2 separate regions of the Homo sapiens genome follow, and region 1 is linked to region 2. Evidence: promoter capture Hi-C in 16 types of primary human blood cells and fetal thymus (Javierre and others, 2016). All regions are on one chromosome and are shown on one strand. Each heading gives the region's core, a stretch centred on a gene start or on the middle of the fragment in contact. The rest is flanking DNA. Distances are from core to core; before and after follow the strand shown. Region 1 overlaps GRIA4 (glutamate ionotropic receptor AMPA type subunit 4). Region 2 holds the start of DDI1 (DDI proteasomal shuttling factor 1).

Region 1 (4,703 bases), core at 783-3,282, 1.7 Mb before region 2:
TTTATTCTCTTTTATTGATAGGGCTATAAATTTTGGATCAGGAATAGAGTTGAATATTTTTATTTTATAAATTGTAACATCTGGTAAGAAGGCACCTACTCCCTGCTTACATTTCTCCTACCACCAATATGCCTTTACATCTTTTTATTAGCCTCAAACATTAATACTACTTCAAGATGAATGTTAAAACATATTTGCCTTTTGAATAAACAAGTTCCTGAAATTAAGATATACATTTTTCCCTATTCCTTCAATTTCCACTTTTATTATTTCATATTTCCATCTTTTCTTAGAAATCTTAAGTGCTGTTTTTATTTTACATGTAGTAGATTTACTTTTATCTTTTACTATTTAATAAACTTTTTAAGTCTATAAATTTATATCTCAGTATGGCTGTGATTCATTATTTAAAGTGCTATTTTGGTTTCTTTTCATTATTTTTAAATAGTTTTATATTAAATTTTTGATTTCCTCTTTGCCTCAAGCTCTTTTTTTATATTTCAAAATATATTTATGTAAATCTTTGTTTCTAATGATTAATTTTTGCTATTAGCATATATTTATTTATCACTATACTAGCAAATGTGGCTTCTATAATTTTTACTTTTCTGTAATCTACTAATTTTGATGGTACTTAATATATAGTCAATTTTTATAAATGTTCCATAAAACATATACAAAAAAATTTATTCTCTTTGTAGCATAATTAATTTTATATCTTAAAATTCATTAGGTATAATATTCAAATCCCATATATCCATATTTTAATGATATTTTTATTACTTATTAGTACTTATTACTTTAATTATACTCTTACTTTTTTTTTTTTTGCCCTCTTTGAATTCTTAGAGAATTCATGGTTTATTGTATCAATTTGTTATCGACCATAGATTATCTTGTTAATTTTTGGTATCTGTCATTTTATTCTCCCCAACCAGGTGGAAATGTACCCTGTTTAGGCCCAGGACCTACCTTAGCAACCTTGATTGGCTCACAAGCCAGGTTGCTGAAGACTTGTTTCCCCAGCAGCTGGTGTCCCTACCTCCTGCCTAGCCCTTTTCCTTTTGCTTTGTCTGTGCTTGGGAAATACATGTTATACTCTGTAGATCAGATTTGCTGGCAGTAAGAACAGAGATGCGTAGAGCCCAGCGTGCTGGAGGGCTACTTCTAATGATACTCCTGTATAAACCAAGGGTAATATTTTAAAACTCTATAATTTTTAATTATATGTGTGGATTTGATATTATATTAGTTCATGGATAAACATTATAGATTTAAATATTAATTATGAATTCAGTTATTATAAAGCCAGTTCATTAAATTCTTTTCAATTTAGTTGCTTGTTTTATAGAAAATTAATATATACCTGCTATTTTGTTTGTTCCTTTCTTAAATAGATGCTCAACCCCTTGGTTGGAACCATTGCTATGTTTCTTTTAGATTTGTCTCTTCTTTCTCCCTCTTAAGGACAAAGAAGGGACCTGTACCTTGTACTTGTAAGAAGGTGAAATTTCAATAGACAAACACGGAGAAAAGCACATTTAATGTATAAAGTCAATAATTTTTTAAAAAAAGAATGAGAAGGAGGAGTAGGGGAAGGTGGAGGAGGAAATTGACACTATTTAGCAATGAATGGGTAGCTTAAAATTCTCTGTGGCTTTGTAAACATGTATATTCATTTCTCTCCTCATCTGCATTGTTGAATTCATTTTGCTGTGTTTAGACTTGAGATGTTTCCCTCGCTCTCTTTTTTTAGCTTCTTGAGTTAAAGCTTAGCTTATTTGTATTAGTTTTCTTGTTTTACAATAAATGTCTTCAAAGCTATGAAATTTTCTTTTCTTTCTGTACTTTAGTTACATCCCACACATTTTCATAATTTTTTATTTGGAAATAATTTTAACTTATGGAAAAGTTTAAAAATAAATATAATACAAGAAAGACGTATATATTCTTTACACAAATTTACCTATTGTTAATAGGGACACAAACATATATAAGTATATGCAAATATGTGTGTGTGTGTATGTTTGTGTATGTGTGTGTGCATTTTATGGATAATATATACAGTTGACTTTTGAACAACGTGACGGTTGGGGCACCCACCCCCAACTCAGTTAAAAATCTGAGTATGACTTTTAACTCCCTCCAAAATTGATTAACACATATTTTATATGTTATATGCATTATATCCTATATTCTTTCAATAAAGAGAAAAAATGTTATCAGAAAAATCATAGAGAACAGAAAATACATTTACCACATTGTACTGTGTTTCTCGATACTGTAAGCTTACATTGTCTGTTTAGAAGATGAATTGTCTGTCTGAATTGGTGAGCAACTGTGGCTGCAGACCTCAATCTATGGAACATATCAAGCTATCCAAATTTTTCTTGTAATGTCACGACATTTCTATGCCTCTTGAGAGCACTTCCAGCATTGCCAGTGGCACGGGTACGTTGGCGTTATTCAGGGTTTATGGTATTCACTAAACATGATGGAGAATCGTGAATAATCTCTTTTTACTGCAATAGGCAATTTAGTGGAGAGTTGTGCTGTTTAGGTAGAGATGATTAGCATCACATGTCGCTTCAAGTGAATACTCACAACGCTTGAGCTCACTGCATTAGCAAGAGGAGGTGGCTATGAAATTATTACAGTGGATTAGTATGTACTATAGTCAATTTTATGCAGTTATGATTTAATACAGCATCTTTAAGTTTATTTACATTTCTCTCCACTGCAAATGGAGCTATGTACAGTCTGTGTGTGTGTAAGTTTTGATACATTTTAATTTTTATAATAGATTTATATATATTTTATTGTAGTAAATGATAAAATAGACTAGTATTTACATGTATTTTAGGCATTCACAACATGCCTAAATATAAGGCTACATGGTTCATCTGCAAGTTTTTTCAAATTGTTACAAATCAAAAAATTTTCCAATATGATTATTTAAAAAATTTACATGTAATGGACCTGTGTAGTTCAAAATCATATTGTTCAAAGGTCAACTGTACTTCTTTTCTGAAGCAAAATGCATAAATCATGACTTTTTACTCCTAATTACTTCAGTGCATAGTTTCTAAGAATAAGCGAACATATATACACTGTGTAAATCAATATCTGGTTTACAAAAAAATGTCCCTTATACCTTCTTAGAGAAACTTGTTTGCAAAAAGGACAAAAGCTCCAGCATGATCTCATATAGAGACAGGGATTTGGGAACGGTTCATATCAAAATCTTAGTTAGGGCAAGGGCAAAAATAGCATTGTCCCCAAAGAGAATGTTGACAGAGCAGAGTTGAGTAATAAGGGTTGAATATAGAGAATACTTATGTCTACGGTCAGGGATATAAGGCAGAAAACATGAAATATTGAACATAATCATAGGAGCATAATGTTTCAAAAAATAGTGCAAAATAGCTTTTGGACAAAGGAAGGTTAGTTTTTGAAGAGGTTAAATTCTGTAGAGTGGGCATGGATAGAACTAGAATGGCAAAGGATTAAGGAGTAAAGATGCAGAAAAAGCTTTGTAGAGTATGCTTTCAATGAATATGGCAATGAAAAACCTAGCATAGTGGCTTAAGAGAGTACAAGTTATAGAGGGTATTTGATTGTTCATAGGTTGGGGAAATTTTGGATATGTGTAGTCATGTGTATAGACAGAGGAGGAGGAGAAACTTAAGGTTAAGGAGGGAGTACACATAATTAAAGAAAAACATCTTCGACTATGAAAGAAAATATGGTCTCATTTGGAGAGTCAGCCTTGGATGAAGGGAATAATTATTTCTTGATGGCAGGAAGAACATAGGAGGGAATGGATGGACGAATGTTCAGAGCATTTTGATGTTTTTAGAACACTGAAGGGCTTATGTTAAATGGTCTTAGTAAAGATAGGCTAATCCATAGAGAATTAAAAGGGTAGAGAAAGTCCAGCTGATATTTGTGAAAATTGGAAAAATCTTTGGAATATGGGCTTTGGGGAAAAGTAGGTTTTAACTAGGGATAGGTAGAAGAATTGTTCAGAAGAAATGAGAGTCTCAGTCAGTGTAATGGAACAAAGTGATCCCGTTTTTTGCTTTTCTCCAGAACTACTTGGCAACTGGAAAATAGGAGGAAATTGGATGATTTGGTTTATTTAAAACTAATGTTAAATGGGAGGATATTCTTAAACCATATATTGAAATGCTTAAAATAAATTTTGCGTTTATTTTGGGTGAGTGAAGTGGAAGGCTGAGAAAGTTTGACCAAGTATCCAAACTTATTTAACTTACACAAACATATGTTGAGAAACTAAGAAAGAAAATATATAGTTTGGCAAAAATATGCATCATAAATGGAAAAAGATATTGACCAACACATTTCTTATATTAAACACGAGACTTTTAAGAATGAATTTTCTTCCCTTGTAAAATTGCAAAATTCTGCAGAGTTAAACAACCAAATAAAAATGTACCCACAAGTAAAGTCTGTTTTCAAACTGGGGACGTTAGGATACAAACAAGGTGTCACCACAGGTGAAACTCTCCTTGCATCACGATGTTAGGGGGACTATAAAGTTGAATAGCAAATTAGAGCACTAAATCATCCATATTCTATGTATGTATCACTTAAACACACCAAAAAGTAATATAAAGGATATGTTATGACATAAGGAAAATGTAGCATTGATCTTGTTACTAGCACCTTTAGTACATATG
Region 2 (4,170 bases), core at 1,133-3,632:
ATTGTCAGAATGGATAATTCTGAATGAGGCCTTAGAGATCTTCTCATTCAAAAGTTTTCAAATGTTATTTTAACAGTGAAAACCTTTGTTCAAACAATACTGATGTAGCAGCAGCTTAATGTATAAAGCAGATTTTTACTTTGAAAAAGAGAGAGAGATGATCTAGTTGCAATGACTATTAGAGAACCTGGACCACTGCCTGTCCCCACCTCTCATTCCCACCACTGTACAACTTGACTCCCAAGAAGTACCATAATTTCTTTTTTAAAAAATCTAATTTATTGCCTTTGTTTTATAGCCAGAGTTTCTTTGAATGCAGGAGAAATAGAAAATTAATGTAGCATCCTTGGAGATAAATCCACTTTCTCAAATATGGCAAAAATAGTCTTTAGCTGTGGATTGCAGGGTGACTGCAGGGGATCCAGGGGAAGGGAAGGTGTAAATATGAGGAAATTGGTCTTTATGCTGCCCCAAACAGACATGTATAAGTATTAGTTAACATCATAGTGTAACTGACCTACCATTTCTAATACCCTTCCCAAAGAAAACAAAACCTGTGAAAATGGGCATATTTCTCTCAGTAGAAAGAATTATTAGTGCTGATGTGAAATAGTTTTATGTGGATGCCTTGTAAGGTCTGCAGCCATAGCATTTTTCCAGGGAATTCTGCAAAATAGCAATGATTTGGATAAGCCACCTGTAATCTGATAGGATAGTGTCTCTAAAGGAAGAAGCTGGTTTTCTTTTTCATGGATTATCTGGAAATCAGCTGGAGCCTCCAGAGCCTTCCCAGGATGCCTTTCAGTGATCTCTGGACAAGGGAAATGGAAGAGGGACCAAGACCAAGGAATCAGGATTGACGTTAGTTACCCATCTGAGAACGTAGTCCCAAGGCCAGGTTTAGTTGTTACTGATGTTTTTTAATGATTACATTGCCAGTAAGCTCTTAACTTATAATTGCCGGGGACCTGAGGCTCCCTCAAGGTGGTAACATATTTATAACGTGCTTTAATGCTCTTTTCGTCCTGAATCCATGACTGAATGTGTAATTTCCTTGTCCGAAGACTCATCTTGCCCACTTACCATCCTAGAGCATAAGGGCAACTCTCCCTCAGGAAGAAAATAAGTCTGCGTGCCAGTGGTGCCGATGACCAGCACATTTTTCTTCAAATCGATGGAACATTGATGTCTCCGGAGCATATCTAGGCCTAGAAGCATATCCATGGGTTGATCCTCAAGTATGGAGAAAGAGCACTGTAAGAAATCACCTTCAATTTGAATCTGAGCTAGATGAACACGGCCAATAATTCTCTGTGTGCCCACTCCTTTAGCAACCCCAGCCCACCGTCGGTCCACCAGCCTCATGATGTTACATCGCTCGGCACAAGCCTGGCTCATAATGGTCATCTGGGCGCCCGAGTCAACAAAAGCCTTCAAAGGATGCCCATTCACTTTGCAGTTAATGTAGAGCATCGTCACTTGTCCAAAACTCTCGGGGGCCTCTTCTATCGCTATATTCATGTTTTCTTCAATGTTTTGCTGCCGGATTTCCTCTTCTATTTTGGCCTGAGCTTCCCGATCCAGTGGGTCGGCTGTGTAGAGACGAAGCCTCTCTTGCTCTCTCAAGGCCTTTTCCCTTTGCTGCTCCATCAGCACCTGAGAAAAGGTCTCAAGGCTTCCGCTGAGCAGGGCTTCCGCCAAGGGAGGGTTGCGTTCCTTGAGCAGGGACAGATCGTGGGGGTTGGAGAGCAGCATGCTGCGGATCAGGGCGGGGCTGCCCAGACCTTGCAGGCCGGCCACCTTCTCTCCTGACGCCAAGCCCTGTGACCGCTGGGCAGCGGGTGTGCGCTGCTGCTGCTGTCCAGGGTGCTGTGGACGGGAGCTGGACGTCCCAGGCACCGCAATGCCACTGAAGTCTACACGAGGCTGGTTCGGGGCACGCCCTGGAGCCCGAGGTCCCACATTGTCCTTCTGCAGTAAAACCACGATATCGCCATCTTTGAGGCCGTAGGAGCCCAGGGAACAGTGGTCCTCGATGAGGAGTCGCTCCATGTGGATGATCTGGATCTCTTCGACGGGGACTCTGGACTCCGCTTCGCAGAGGACCTTGAAGTTTCGGAGCTCAAAGTCGGGGCTGACCTGGAGAGAGAAGGTGACCTCGGAGAGGTCCCTCCGCACGCAGTACACGGTGATCAGCATGGCGGGGGCCCGGGCGGGCCGGGCTAGCAGAGGGCATGGGCGGCTCACTGGCGGGCTGGGGCGGGCCTGCGTCGTTGGTGCCGCTGCTCCTCAGGACTTGGTAGGTAGGGACCGTCCGGGCTCATTCACCTCTCAGAGAGGCGCGGACACTCATCTGTCTGGGGGCTGTCTCCCAGCCTCAGTGCCTGCTGTGTGGCCAGGTGGAGCCTTGAGGTAGCACGTTGTGTTCCAAAGTCCATTTCTAAGTGTGCTGTTTGGAACCTAGAATGCCTACTCCCATGGATACACGATGGCTCAAAGCTGTCAGGTTTCAAGGCCAGCCCTTCAAAGCCTATTTAACACATGATATGAAAGAAATGATTTCAACACATTTTTTTTTGAGACAGGATCTTATCCTGTCACCCAGGCTGGAGTACAGTGGCATAATCACAGCTCACTGTAGCCTCGACCTCGTAGGCTCAAGCAGTCCTCCTCTCTCAGCCTCCTGAAAAGCTGGAACTACAGGCACAGTCTACCATGCCCGGCTAATTGTTGTATTTTTTTTTAATAGATTTGGGGTCTCACTGTGTTGTCCGGGCTGGCCTCCAACTCCTGGGCTCAAGCAATCCCCCACACTTCGGCCTCCCAAAGTGCTGGAATTACAGGTGTGAGCCACCATGCCTAGTTTTTCAACACTTTCTAAACAGCATATTATCATTTGTTTTGTTCATTTTAGAGTTGTATTCTTTGTACTTTTGTTTTTTCCCCAAACAGTAAGGATTTGTTTCTTACATGGCAAGTACCATTCTATGTGCATAGTAGGAAAGTCAGATTTGGAGCCTGCCCTTGAGGAGCTCACATTTCTGGAAAGGGATAGACAGGTGAATGGGTAATCACAATACTAAAGGCAAAATCTTTTACAAAGACATGTTCAGGGTACTGCCTTTAGTATCACCAACAGAACAGAGGATATTTTCCTAAGGAGGAGACAAGCTGGATGTTGAAGGATGAGCATCTTCCAGGTGCAAAGTGGTCTCACTCCAAAGGAAAGCAGTTTCATGTTACAAAAGCAGGAATTTATGGCAAGGGCTGTTATTTCTAGAGAAAGATGAGACATTTTGTGCAATAAAAAAATTGTACATGACTTTGAATACCAGGATATGAAGCTGGAAAAAAATTAGTTGAGCCAATTGATGAAGTCATATGTGAATCTACGGAGTTTAAATATTAAATATTATCAATTAGCAAGAATTCCTCCTCCAAAAAAAAAAAAAAAAAAAAAGAAAAAGAAGTAAGGAAGGAAAGGAAAGGGAAAAGATTTGAAGCAGGTGTTTGTGATTTTTTTTTTTAAATTGACTTAAGGAAGAGGCTTCTTGCAACACATGGAGGACATAATGTGGCAGGAGGGCCAGTCAGGAGGCTTTTCCAGTGGTTCAAAGAGGGAGCTGTTGCTAGAGTGTGGAAAGTCAGGAGGCCCAAAGCCAAAGCAGTAGAGAATAAACATGTTTCTTGAGTAAAATGGACAGAGTGTGCATACCCCTTGGAGGTGGGGAGTGTAAAAAAGTGGAATGTGTGGATAACACAGAGGGTCTCTAAAATGGGATATAGGGTAGATGGGCCATTGCCTTGAAGGGGAATGAATGAATGAGTGAGATGAACCTTTGAGGTGACCCATTTGACATCAGTTCTGTAGGAAAATTCATTAAGGATGCCACCCTAGAGGCCAATATGCCTCTCTCTGACATTTGGGCACAGCCACCTTCTCCCTACTCTCCCCCACCCCCACTTACACACACACACATACAAGGCTGTCATGGTGAAAAGTCCTTCAAGGCAAATGATGATTGGGTAGAAATCCTTGCATGCCAGTTATTTTTCTCTATGTTTAATAAAGTGTTTTGCTGCCTGGCGCGGTGGCTCATGCCTGTAATCCCAGCAGTTTGGGAGGCCAGGGTGGGCGGATCAAGAGGTCAGGAGATCGAGACCATCCTG

What was found. The method cuts DNA at HindIII sites, captures the fragments that hold promoters and counts their contacts. A CHiCAGO score of 5 or more calls a contact.
Region 1: a contact is called between a fragment that was not itself captured here and the fragment with the promoter of DDI1 in region 2, in 1 of 17 cell types (non-activated CD4 T cells). The highest score is 5.2, in non-activated CD4 T cells.

What each region holds. Positions count from the first base shown.
Region 1 is chr11:105,770,000-105,774,702 of GRCh38, reverse strand. All of the region lies in intron 4 of GRIA4 (glutamate ionotropic receptor AMPA type subunit 4), which reads right to left. Among named protein-coding and RNA genes, the nearest start is that of GRIA4, 160 kb to the right of the region's middle. The HindIII fragment of the contact is 517 bases long and covers 1,774-2,290 here.
Region 2 is chr11:104,034,852-104,039,021 of GRCh38, reverse strand. DDI1 (DDI proteasomal shuttling factor 1) reads right to left here and starts at 2,382. Exons shown (of 1, transcript NM_001001711.3): 1 at 1-2,382. The coding sequence starts at 2,199. The coding sequence ends at 1,009. All of the region lies in intron 1 of PDGFD (platelet derived growth factor D), which reads left to right. The HindIII fragment of the contact is 9,840 bases long and covers 1-4,170 here.